Linked DNA regions of Homo sapiens: region 2 is linked to region 1. Evidence: promoter capture Hi-C in human tissues and cell types (Jung and others, 2019). All regions are on one chromosome and are shown on one strand. Each heading gives the region's core, a stretch centred on a gene start or on the middle of the fragment in contact. The rest is flanking DNA. Distances are from core to core; before and after follow the strand shown.

Evidence for each region. The method cuts DNA at HindIII sites, captures the fragments that hold promoters and counts their contacts. A contact is called where the count stands out against the background at its distance.
Region 2: a contact is called between a fragment that was not itself captured here and the fragment with the promoter of OR10H5 in region 1, in 3 of the 25 tissues and cell types used here (adrenal gland, heart left ventricle and liver).

What each region holds. Positions count from the first base shown.
Region 1 is chr19:15,784,507-15,790,591 of GRCh38, forward strand. OR10H5 (olfactory receptor family 10 subfamily H member 5) reads left to right here and starts at 3,155. Exons shown (of 2, transcript NM_001004466.2): 1 at 3,155-3,210. The HindIII fragment of the contact is 26,370 bases long and covers 1-6,085 here.
Region 2 is chr19:15,744,956-15,751,040 of GRCh38, forward strand. No RefSeq gene overlaps it. Among named protein-coding and RNA genes, the nearest start is that of OR10H3, 10 kb to the left of the region's middle. The HindIII fragment of the contact is 3,047 bases long and covers 1,769-4,815 here.

The DNA of each region.
Region 1 (6,085 bases), core at 1,905-4,404:
CTTTTTTTTTCTGAAGTTTTAACACAATGTGTTACGGTGTGGATTTCTCTTTATGGTTGCTTGGGGTTCATTGAGGTTCTCGAATCTAAACTGTTTTCAATCAGTTTTAGAAAAATCTTGGCCACAATTTCTTCAAACAATGCCTGTGCCCTATTTTTTATTTTACTTCTGAAATTCTAATTAAACAAAGGTTACACTTTCTCATTCTGACCCTAATGTTTTCTTCCCTCTCTTTTATTTTTATTTATTTGTTTGTTTGTTTGTTTGTTTTGAGACAGAGTCTCACCCTGTTGCCCAGGTTGGCGTGCAGTGGCACCATCCCGCTCACTGCAACCTTCACCTCTCGAGCTCACACGATTCTCCTGCCTCAGCCTCCCAAGTAGCTGGGATTACAGGTGTTCACCACCACATCTGACTAATTTTTTTTATTATACTTTAAGTTTTAGGGTACATATGCACAACATGCAGGTTTGTTACATATGTATACATGTGCCATGTTGGTGTGCTGCACCCATTAACTCGTCATTTAACATTAGATATATCTCCTAATGCTATCCCTCCACCCACCCCACAACAGTCCCTGGTGTGTGATGTTCTCCTTCCTGTGTCCATGTGTTCTCATTGTTCAGTTCTCACCTATGAGTAAGAACATGCGGTGTTTGGTTTTTTGTTCTTGCGATAGTTTGCTGAGAATGATGGTTTCCAGCTTCATCCATGTCCCTACAAAGGACATGAACTCGTCATTTTTTATGGCTGCATAGTATTCCATGGTGTATATGTGCCACATTTTCTTAATCCAGTCTATCATTGTTGGACATTTGGGTTGGTTCCAAGTCTTTGCTATTGTGAATAGTGCCGCAATAAACATACGTGTGCATGTGTCTTCATAGCAGCATGTTTTATAATCCTCTGGGTATATACCCAGTAATGGGATTGTTGGGTCAAATGATATTTCTAGTTCTAGATCCCTGAGGAATTGCCACACTGGCTTCCACAATGGTTGAACTAGTTTACAGTCCCACCAACAGTGTAAAAGTGTTCCTATTTCTCCACATCCTCTCTAGCACCTGTTGTTTCCTGACTTTTTAATAATCGCCATTCTAACTGGTGTGAGATGGTATCTCATTGTGGTTTTGATTTGCATTTCTCTGATGGCCAGTGATGACGAGCATTTTTTCATGTGTCTTTTGGCTGCATAAATGTCTTCTTTTGAGAAGTGTCTGTTCATATCCTTCACCCACTTTTTGATGGGGTTGTTTGTTTTTTCTTGTAAATATGTTGGAGTTCATTGTAGATTCTGAGCTTTGTTCTTTTGGCTTAGGATTGACTTGGCAATGTGGGCTCTTTTTTGGTTCCATATGAACTTTAAAGTAGTTTTTTCCAATTCTGTGAAGAAAGTCATTGGTAGCTTGATGGGGATGGCATTGAATCTATAAATTACCTTGGGCAGTATGGCCATTTTCACAATATTGATTCTTCCTACCCATGAGCATGGAATGTTCTTCCATTTGTTTGTATCCTCTTTTATTTCATCGAGCAGTGGTTTGTAGTTCTCCTTGAAGAGGTCCTTCTATCTGATCTTTGACAACATGACAAAAACAAGAAATGGGGAAAGGATTCCCTATTTAATAAATGGTGCTGGGAAAACTGGCTAGCCATATGTAGAAAGCTGAAACTGGATCCCTTCCTTACACCTTACACAAAAATTAATTCAAGATGGACTAAAGACTTAAATGTTAGACCTAAAACCATAAAAACCCTAGAAGAAAACCTAGGCAATACCTTTCAGTACATAGGCATGGGCAAGGACTTCATGTCTAAAACACCAAAAGCAACGGCAACAAAAGCCAAAATTGACAAATGGGATATAATTAAACTAAAGAGCTTCTGCACAGCAAAAGAAACTACCATCAGAGTGAACAGTCAACCTACAGAATGGGAGAAAATTTTTGCAATCTACTCATCTGACAAAGGGCTAATATCCAGAATCTACATCTGACTAATTTTTGTATTTTGAGTAGAGATGGGGTTTCGCCATGTTGGCCAGGCTGGTCTTGAGCTCCTGAACTCAAGTGATCCACCTGCCTCAGCCTCCCAGAGTGCTGGGATTACAGGCATGAGCCACCGCGCCCGGCCCCCAACTCACTAATTCTCTCTTCAATTGTGTCTGACATGCATTAAACTTCTCCTGGGATATTAATATTGTAGCTTTGGTTCTAAAAATTATATATCTTTTTTTTCAAATCAACCCTGCCGCTCTTTACAATGCTTTATCCTTGAAGATATTTCCAAAATTACATTTCGTTATTTAAACTTCGTAAGCAATATTGTTTCATAGTCCTTGCCTGATAATTCCAGTATCTGAAATCTTTGTTGGACTGTTTCTGGAGTTATGGGGAACTGGGAGATTCTGAAGGTGTTGATACCTGGGTCATGATGCACCCTGTCAAGTTTATGGGGAGGAAGAGGCAGAGCTGGAGCTCTTGGCCCCTCCACTCCATCTGGGCTTGCTGCAGGAACCTACCGTGTGACCTTGGCCTTGTTCCCTGCCCTCTGTGGGCTTTGTGTTCCCAGAGGCAACCATAGAGGATGCTTCTTCTGAGAATCACACCTCTGTGTCTCTCCAGATCCCTTTCCTGATATCTGTTGAGAAGAGACACCATCCTGGGAAACATCACCCAGAATCCAGTCCCATTTTTCCAAAATGCTTGGAATTGGGGCAGCCCAGCCCAGCCTCGCTAGCCGCAGGGGGTGGTGGTGGTGGTGGTGTCAGGGTTTGATGGTGGTGTCAGGGTTTGATGGTGAGATCTTTAGGGAGGAGGTGATGTAAAAACTGAAACCTCAAATGAGAACAGGACTGAGATAAGTGAGAGTGAGTAGTGGTGGAAGGGGTCCCAGGCAGGAGGAAGGGAGGAAAGATGGAAGAAGGGAAGAAGAGAGGAAGGAAGGAAGAGAAGGAAGAAAAGAGGGAGGGAAGCAGCAAAGGAAGGAGGGAGGCAGGAATGGAGAGGGCAATCCCAAGGTCCCCCGCCTCCCTCCTTGGACTTCGATTACCCTGCATCCTGCATCCCAGGCAGGCTCCTCAAGACACCTCTGGGAACGTGCCACTGGGGAAGACGCCTGCAGAGATGAAGCTCTCACCCTGGGTGCACTGTGCCCAGGGCCATTACAGGCCTGGCTGCAAGGCGTCCCTAAAGGTCTCTGATGAAGGTAAGTGGAGTCGTCTATTTCCAAACCTGCTTTCCAGGATGAAGTGGCAAGAGTACTGGGAGGTGGAAGGGAGAAGGCAAGAGAAGCAGGGAAAATTGGAACAGAGGGAGGCACAGGTTTGGGAAAAGAAACGAGAGGGAGCATGGGATGATATGGAGTAGGGGTTCTATAGCCTCAGCCACCTGACTCCAGGCTGGATCAGCCTGTCCTCACTCCAAGTCCCCCATAGAGTCCACCTACTGCCTAGAGCAGCCCCCTTTCCACAGCAGTCGTGGCCACCAGGGTCCATGCTGGGGTGGGGAGTGGTCTCTATACTAAGTTGTGGAGGAGGGTGGTTCTGAGCCAAGCGGGTGACATTGAGTGTGTCACCATGCATGTGGGTGTACTTAGGCATCACCCATGTGTACTCCTGCCTTCACTGTGTGTGTGTGTGTGCAGTTGTGTGCGCTTGTATGAGATTATTGTAGCTGCCATTTCAAAGTGCCGCAAACCTTGTGGCTTAAAACAAGATAAATGCATTCTTGCAGGGTTCTGGAGGCTAGACGTCTTAAAGCAAGACGTCTACAAAGCTACTCTCCCTCTGAAGATTCTAAGGGAGAAGATGCCTTGCCTCTTCCAGCTTCTGGGTGCTCTAGGCATTGATTGATTTGTAGCTGCATCGCTCCAATCTCTGCCTCTCTCTTCACGCGACCTTTTCCTCTGTGTGTCCTCCCCTCGTCTTTGAGGGGCACCAGTTGTTGGATTTAGTAAACAACCTAATTCAGAATAATCTCATTTTTATTTTTATTATTATTATTTTTTGGACAGGGTCTCGCTCTGTCACCCAGGCTGGAGTGCAGTGGCACGATCACAGCTCACTGCAGCCTCGACCTCCCAGGCTCAACTGATCCTCCCACTTGGCCTCCTAAGCAGCTGTTAGCGCAGGCACACAGCACCACGCCCAGCTAATTTTTGTAGAGATGGGGTTTTGCCATGTTGCTCAGGCTGGTCTCGAACTCCTGGATTCAAGCAATCCCCCGCCCCACCCACCTTGGTCTCCCACAGTGCTGGGATTATAGGTGTGAGCCACCACACCCAGCTGATCTCATTTTTGGATCCTTACCTTAATGACATCTGTAAAAGACTCTATTGCCACCTAAGGTCACATTATTTTATTTTAGTTTAGTTTAGTTTGGTTTCAGGGTACATGCTCAGGATGTGCAGGTTTGTCACACAGGCAAATGTGTGCCATGGTGCTTTGCTGCACCTATCAACCTATCACCTAGGTATTAAGCCTGGCATACATTAGCTATTTTTCTGAGGCTCTCCCCACCCCTGCCCTACCCCAACAGGCCCCAGTGTGTGTTGTTCCCCTCCCTGTGTCCAAAGGTCACATTCTGAGGTTCTGAATGAACATGAGTTTTGGAGGGACATGATTCAACACACACAGTGCCCTCACACATGGAATGGCTGTGTGTCTCCAGTTTATTCCAGCCCCAGATGAGCACCAGGCATTTGGCAAGGGCTCCATAGGTGTGTGCAGAATGAGTGGTGGTGTCTCTGGTTCTGGCTGGGGGTGTCACCGCCAGTGTGCATTTCAGAGCCAGTGCGACTGTGTGGCATTGCTCAGATCTGTCTGCCTTTGCATCTGTGTGTTCAGTTGTATGATAAAGTGCATAAGCAGAAAGAGCTGGATGAGTTGAATTGTGTCTCCTTTGAGGAGAGAGGGCACTGGAGCAGGGTCTGGGAGCCTGCGTGTGTGCCAGCCTGGGATTCTGCATTTGCACCAGCCTGGGATTCTGTGTGTGCACCAGCCTAGGGTTCTGCGTGTGCATCATTCTGGAGTTCTGTGTGTGCAGAAGCCTGAGGTTCTGCGTGTGCACCAGTCTGGGGTTCTGCCTGGGAGCCCTCAGCTGGGAGAAGGACCCTGACCTTTGTCCTTCCCTAGGTCTAGACTTGTGCAGGGGAGTTGGAGAGCCCCCTTGGAGATTTCTGCTAAGGTGCTGTTCTGGGAAAGAGTGGGACAGAATGTGCCAGAGAGCTGAGAGAGCCCTTTCTGTATTTCTCTTTTCTTTTTTTTCTTTTCTTTTCTTTTTTTTTTTTTGAGACAGGGTCTCGCTCTGTCACCCAGGCTGGAATGTAGTGGCATGAACATGGCTCACTGCAGCCTCGAATTCCTGTACTCAAGCAATCCTCTCACCTCAGCCTCCTGAGTAGCTGGAACTACAGGTGCACATCACCACGCCTGGCTAATTTAAAAACAATTTTTTTGGTAAAGATGGGATCTCACTATGTTGCCCAGGCTGGTCTCAAACTCCTGGCCTCAAGTGATCCTCCTGCCTCAGCCTCCAAAAGTGCTGGGATTATAGGTGTGAGCCACTGGGCATGGCCCCTTTCTGTAATTTTTAGTAACATTTGTGCATTTAGGAGCAGGGACCTTGGAGCCTGTTGGTAGCCAGGAGAGAGGAAGAGGTGAGCTGCACAAGGGAGGGAGTGCTGGAGGGTAGGAGGCATTTACAGTGACAGAAGAAGGTTCATCTGGAATGGGGTTGAAGTCCCTGACTGTCACAGTGCCAATGTGAGTCACCTGGCAGGCAAGGATGAGTGGCAACCAGCTCAGCAGACAGCAAACAGCAATGATGACAGAGATGATCACGACAACGTCAGCTGGCAGCCTTGAGAACTGTGTGCTAAGCACTTGGCATCCCGTCGCCCAGGGAACCCCCAGGGCAGGTCTCTGGTTATCCCAGCATACAGTGAGAACCTGGGATTTGAACCATGGGTCTGCGTGACTCCACGGCCTGGATATGTCTTAGAGAATTGTCTCTGGCTGTCAGAAGAGGGATGGGGCAGAGGAGGGGAGATTGGTAAGCACCGTGGGCTGAGAGAGAGGGCG
Region 2 (6,085 bases), core at 2,042-4,541, 39 kb before region 1:
TATAACATACACATGTGCACAGATGGTAAAATGCTTTGTTTATCTTATTATTTTAAACTGTAATCTGTTAGATCAATTAAGAATAAGAAAAATGAATGCTTTTATTTATCTCCATTTATTCCTTCCCTGATGCTCTTCCTTTCTTTAGGTAGACACAGATTTCTGACCTATATAATTTTCATTCTCTTTGAAGAACCTCCTTAAACAATTCTTGCAAAGCAAGTCTACTGATAACAAATGCTTTTAACTTTTATCTGAGTCAGTCTTTATTTCTCCTCCACTTTTGAAGGATACTTTCATAGGGTGCAGAATTCTAGGTTGGTGAATTTTTTTCTCTCAACACTTTAAATATTTCACTTCATTCTCCTCTTTCTTGTATGGGCTGAAGAGAAATTGGATGTAATTTTAATCTTTACTCCTCTATAGGTAAGGCTCTCCCTTCAGCTTTTATAAGGATTTTTTTCTTTATATATATATTTTTAAAATTTTTAAGTTCCAGGATGCATGTTCCGGGTGTGCAGTTTGTAACATAGGTCAACGTGTGTCATGGTGATTTTCCGCACCTATCAACGCAGCACCTAGGTATTAAGCCCAGCGTGCATTAACTATTTTTCCTAACGCTCCCTCACTCCCCAGCCCACCCCGTGACAGACCCCAGTGTGTATTTTTCTCCTGCCTTGTCCGTGTGTTCTCATTGTATATTTGATTTTCTGTAGTTTGAAAATAATATGCCTACGTGTACTTTTTCTGGCATTTATCATACTCGGAGTGGTCTGAGCTTCTAGGATCTGAGATTTAATTTCTGATATCAATTTGGAGAAATTCTCGGTAATTATTGTTTCAATTTTTTCATTTGTCTTTCTTCTCTTGCTGGTATTTCCATGACACCTATGTTAACATTTTGTAGTTGTCCCAGTTGGATATTCTCTTCTGCTTGTTTCCCTCCACTCTTTTTTCTCTTTGCTTTTCAATTTTGCAGGATCCTATGATATATCCTCAAGCTCAGAGATTCTTCCCTCAGCCATGTCCAGTCTACTAGTAAGCCCATGAAAAGTATTCTTCGTTTCATCTTCCTCCTACCCCTCTCCCTCCCCTCCCCTTCCTCCTCCACGTCCTCCTCTCTTTCTTCTCCTTCTCCCTTTCTTCTCCTCCTCCTCCTTTTCTTCTGATTATTTTTTAAAATAGGGACAGAGTCTCACTCTATCACCCAGCCTGGACTACAGTGGTGCAATCACAGCTCACTGCAGCCTTGAATTTCTGGGCTCGAGCGATCCACTGGCCTTAGCCTCCCAAGTTGTTGGGATTGCAGGTGTGCACCACCGCATCTGAACAATTTTTTTTTTTTTGGTACAGATGGGGTCCTGATATTTTGACCCAGTTGGTCTCAAACTCCTGGACTTAAGCAATCCTCCCACCTCAATCTCCCCAGGCACTGAGATGACAGGTGTGGGCCACCAGTCCATTCCTTATTTCTGTTACAATCGATTTGACTTTTAGCATTTCTTTTGTCTCTTTCCTAGAATTATCATCTCAGCTGACATTGCTTATCTGTGTTTCCTTGCTGTCTATTTTGTCTACTAGAACCCTTGGCACATTAATCATAGTTGTTTTAAATTCCCAGTCTGATTATTTTGACATGCCCACCTTATCTGGGTCTGTTTGTGATGCCTTCTCTCTCTCTTCAAACAGTCTTTTAGTATGCCTTGTAATTTTTTTCTTGATACCCAGACATGAAGTACTTGGGTAAAAGAACTGTTTTAAATAAGCCTTTAGCAATATGGCAGTAAGGTATGGGGAGGGGAATCATTCTATAGACCTATGCTTAGATATCAGCCCCCATCAGCAGATGTGCTAATCAGGATCCCCTGACACCACCTCCCTTAGGTGGAACAGGATGACTAGAGCTGGCAAGAGTTGGGTATTTTCTTTTTCCAGTGAAACTGTAATAAAACTCCAGTAGGTTAGGTTCTGGTTCAATTGTTTCTCCTCATTTGGAGTCTTTCATTGTTCTCTCCTGCCTGATTGCTCTGGCTAGGTCTTCTAGTACTATGTTCAATAGCAGTGGTGAGAGTGGGCATCCTTGTGTGGTTCCACTTCTTAAAGGGAATGCTTCTAGCTTTTGCCCATTCAGTATGATGTTGGCTGTGGGTTTGTCGTAGATGGTTACTATTTTGAAGTATGTTCCTTCAATGCCAAATTTGTTGAGGGTTTATGACATGAAGGGATGTTGAATTTTATTGAAAGCCCGTTCTGTGCCTATTGAGATGTGGTTTTTGTTTTAAATTCTGTTTATCAACTCATCATCTAGGTTTTAAGCCCCACATGCATTAGGTATTTGTCCTTATGCTCTCCCTCACCCTTTCCCCCACCCACCAACAGGCCCTGGTGTGTGATGTTCCCCTCCCTGTGTCAAGCCACCATGGCACATGTATACCTATGTAACAAATGTGCACGTTCAGCACATGTATCCCAGAACTTAAAGTAAGAAAAAAAGTTCTCATCTTTCTTTTCTTATATAAAAGATAGATACAATGATACTGGTGAGAATTAAATAAATTTATACATGTAAAACACCTCACCTAGAACATAACACCCAAACACAGGCTACATAAATTAATGTTTGTCCATAAAAAATGCATAAAAAATTCCGTTTATGTGCTGAATCACATGTACTGATTTGCATATGTTGAAAAGAATGAAGTCATGTCCTTTGCAGCAACATGGAGGCAGCTGGAGGCCATCGTCCTAAGCAAACTAATGCGGGAACAGAAAAACCAAATGCTACATGATCTTACTGGTAAGTGGGAGTTAGGCACTGACTACACATGGACACAAAGATAGCAACAACACACACTAGAAACTATTCGGTGGGGGAGGGAGGGAGAGGGGCGTGGGTGGAAAAACTACCTATCAGCTACTACGCTTACTACCTGTGTGATGGCACCATTTGTACACCAAACGTCAGCAACATGCAATTTACCCATGTAACAAGCCTGCACATGCACCTCCTGAATCTAAAATAAAAGTTGAAAAGAGGAAAATTGTTCCTCCTGAGGGTAGATCTTCATAGGAAGAACAGAATACTCTGGCGTATTTCAAAATGGGTCATTGTTCCTCCTCCCCTAACAGAAGTATGAGGGGTCTTTTCTCCTGCTTTTACAATGAGGACTTGACAGACCTCTTAGAGGTAAAACCAACAAAAGTGTGGGAACCCCCTCCAATAACTGGGTCCCCAGGAGTTTTGACCTCTCAGATTTGTCTATACCAAGCCTTCAGTAATTCTTCAATTACAGTAAACATTTCCCTTCTCTGATATTGGTTCCTCCAGAGGTTGCAATGGATGGATTTCTTTTACAATAAGTTGTGATTCCCTCTACTTGCCTGTTGGTCTTTCCAATTTGGGGAGCTGCAGTTTGCCCTGTGACATCTTTTACCAATCAAGACTGCTGAGTTTTCAGTTTATTCAGCTTTTTACTTATTGTCGGGATCCAGCAGCAACTTTCAGCTTCTTACATGCCAGATCAGAAACTGGAAGTCAAATATAAGTTCATTTTTTATATAACTACCATATCAACTTAAGTTTTGTTTATAACTTACTAAAAAGAACAAGTGCCTTAGTTTGTCCTGACATCCAATAAATGCTCTAATATCGGGATTACTTAAAGAGCATTTTTCTAATCAGAATGCAAACAAGAACTACATGTTAATTCAGTTATGTCTTTTAGGGACTTTTATTCTATAATCCTCATTCTCCTTCAATTTTTGACATTTGTTTTTGAGATAGTCTAGATTATTATTTTCTTATAGAAAGTCATACAAGCTATATTAGCACGTTGTTTCATGACAGCGTCATTTCACACGTTCGCAGTAGAATTTAAGAGTGGAAGGAGAAGACAGAGATGCTAACAAGAGAACTTGGACTTATCTCTTTCTGGAGAGAAGTCAGGGAATTGTCATGAGATCACAAATCAAGACAGATGGGCTGGGTGTGGTAGCTCATGCCTCTAGTCCTAGCATTTCAGGAGTCCAAGGAGGGAGGATCATTTGAGACCAGGAGTTCAAGACTAGCCTTTGCAATATAGCAAGATCTCATCTGTACAAAAATTTTTTGAAAATTTAATTGGAGGTAATGAATTCCCCTTCACCCCCACTATGAACATACCCTTACCCCTAGAGTTTTCTGATTTACTCTTTGGCCCATTGAGCATGAATTTTCTGATACTGCATCCCCTTCCGATAAGGGAGAAGAAATTATTACTCCCACCTCTCCTCTCCTCCTCCTGCCTGGACTCTGTATTCTGGGTTAAACTATGATTTATTTTAAGGATTTATAACGCCTGACACATGTAGCTGAGCCTTCTGCACAGAGAAATATTGGGAGTGGAGGCTAATTGGGTCAAAGGAAAGAGCCTTAAACCTACACTACAGCCTATCAGGGTGAATCAGAGGTCTACATTGCCCTACTCTTGTCTCACCTACTGCCACAATCTAGGTGAAGGTTTGGACCATAGAACGAGGAACTTGTGTGGAGACTTTTAGCCCCATAGATGCCCTCAGACCAGTCTGCAGGACACTCTGCCCTGACCTGCCCCAGCTTTGCACACATATTCTCCAGTCCTTGAAAGGAAACTGCCCCCTTCAAAGCTTACAAGTTTCTCCTCCTGGCTCAGCACGGGGAGCAAGTTCTCTAGATAGCTTCTTGTTAAATAAAATGGTAGGGAAGAAAACCCAGGCAGCTGAGCATAGAAGGGGATGAGCAACAAGCTTCCTCTCCAAACATGATTTTCCGTCCAAGGTCATGAGCACTCCCTGGTCTGCTTACATTTACCTTATGCTAGATTTCTGGTCAGCACAACAGCATGCAAAGCTTCAGCAGCTTCCTTCTAGATGGAGCTGTGGTGGTTCCTGTTTAGGCAGTTGTGCTCGAGAATCTTCTCCTCCAGGACTACTGGGCAAGGTCCAGTGCAAAGGAGTTCCCCAACACTTTTATCTACTTTCATTTGAATTTTTAAATTAAACATTGAACTCAGCACAAAGAGAGGCGAGGATCATGATTATTGGGTAGATTCTACTTCCAAATATTGTAATTGCAATTCCTTGTGTAATTATTATAGCACTAGGGCTACCAGAGCTTTAAAATCTGTTCTCAAGATTCTGAAGGTAGTAAGTGGTTTGGCTGGCATTTGACATATATTTTCAATGAGTTTAAAATTAGTTTTCTTGCCTGTATACCACTCTGCCTGACTAACCTTAAAATAATCTCTTTAAAATATCTGTGATATTTACCTAACTACATTTTTATAATGTCATTCAATACTATACTTATTGCATAAATATTTTACGTACTTATCATGTAAGTATACAAAATAGCACATATAGATCTTATGTTTCTCCATGAAGTTTTTAATTGTATCAGCTACATAATTTTTTAAATTTTTTTATTTTAAGTTCTGGGATACATGTGCAGGATGTGCAGGTTTGTTACATAGGTATACATGTGCCATGGTGATTTGCTGCACCTATCAATCCATCATCTAGGTTTTAAGCCCTGCATGCATTAGGTATTTATCCTAATGCTCTCCTTCCCCTTCCCCACCACCCCCCGGCAGGCCCTCGTGTGTGATGTTCCCCTCCCTGTATCCATGTGTTCTCATTGTTCAACTCCCACTTATGAGTGAGAACATGCGGTGTTTGGTTTTCTGTTCCTGTGTTAGTTTGTATCAGGTACATAATGTTTAATCATAGTTATATACTATCATTCATTCACCTTTGATCTACCCAAAACTATGAGAAGGGGAAAGAAAAGAATGAAAGGAAAGTGCGATCAATCTGAATAGGCCTGTATCGATTAGAGCAATTGAATTAATAATTAATATCATTTAAAAACAGAAAGCCTCAGACCCAGACTGGTTCACTGATGATTTCTACCAAATATTTAAGGAAGAAATTCTTACCAATTTTCTGCTTTATCTTTTAAAAGACAGAAGCAGGGGAAATATTTCCTAACTCATTTTATGAGACCATCATTACCCTAATAGCAAACCTAGACAAAGACATTACCAGCAAAAAAAAAAAAAAAAAAAAG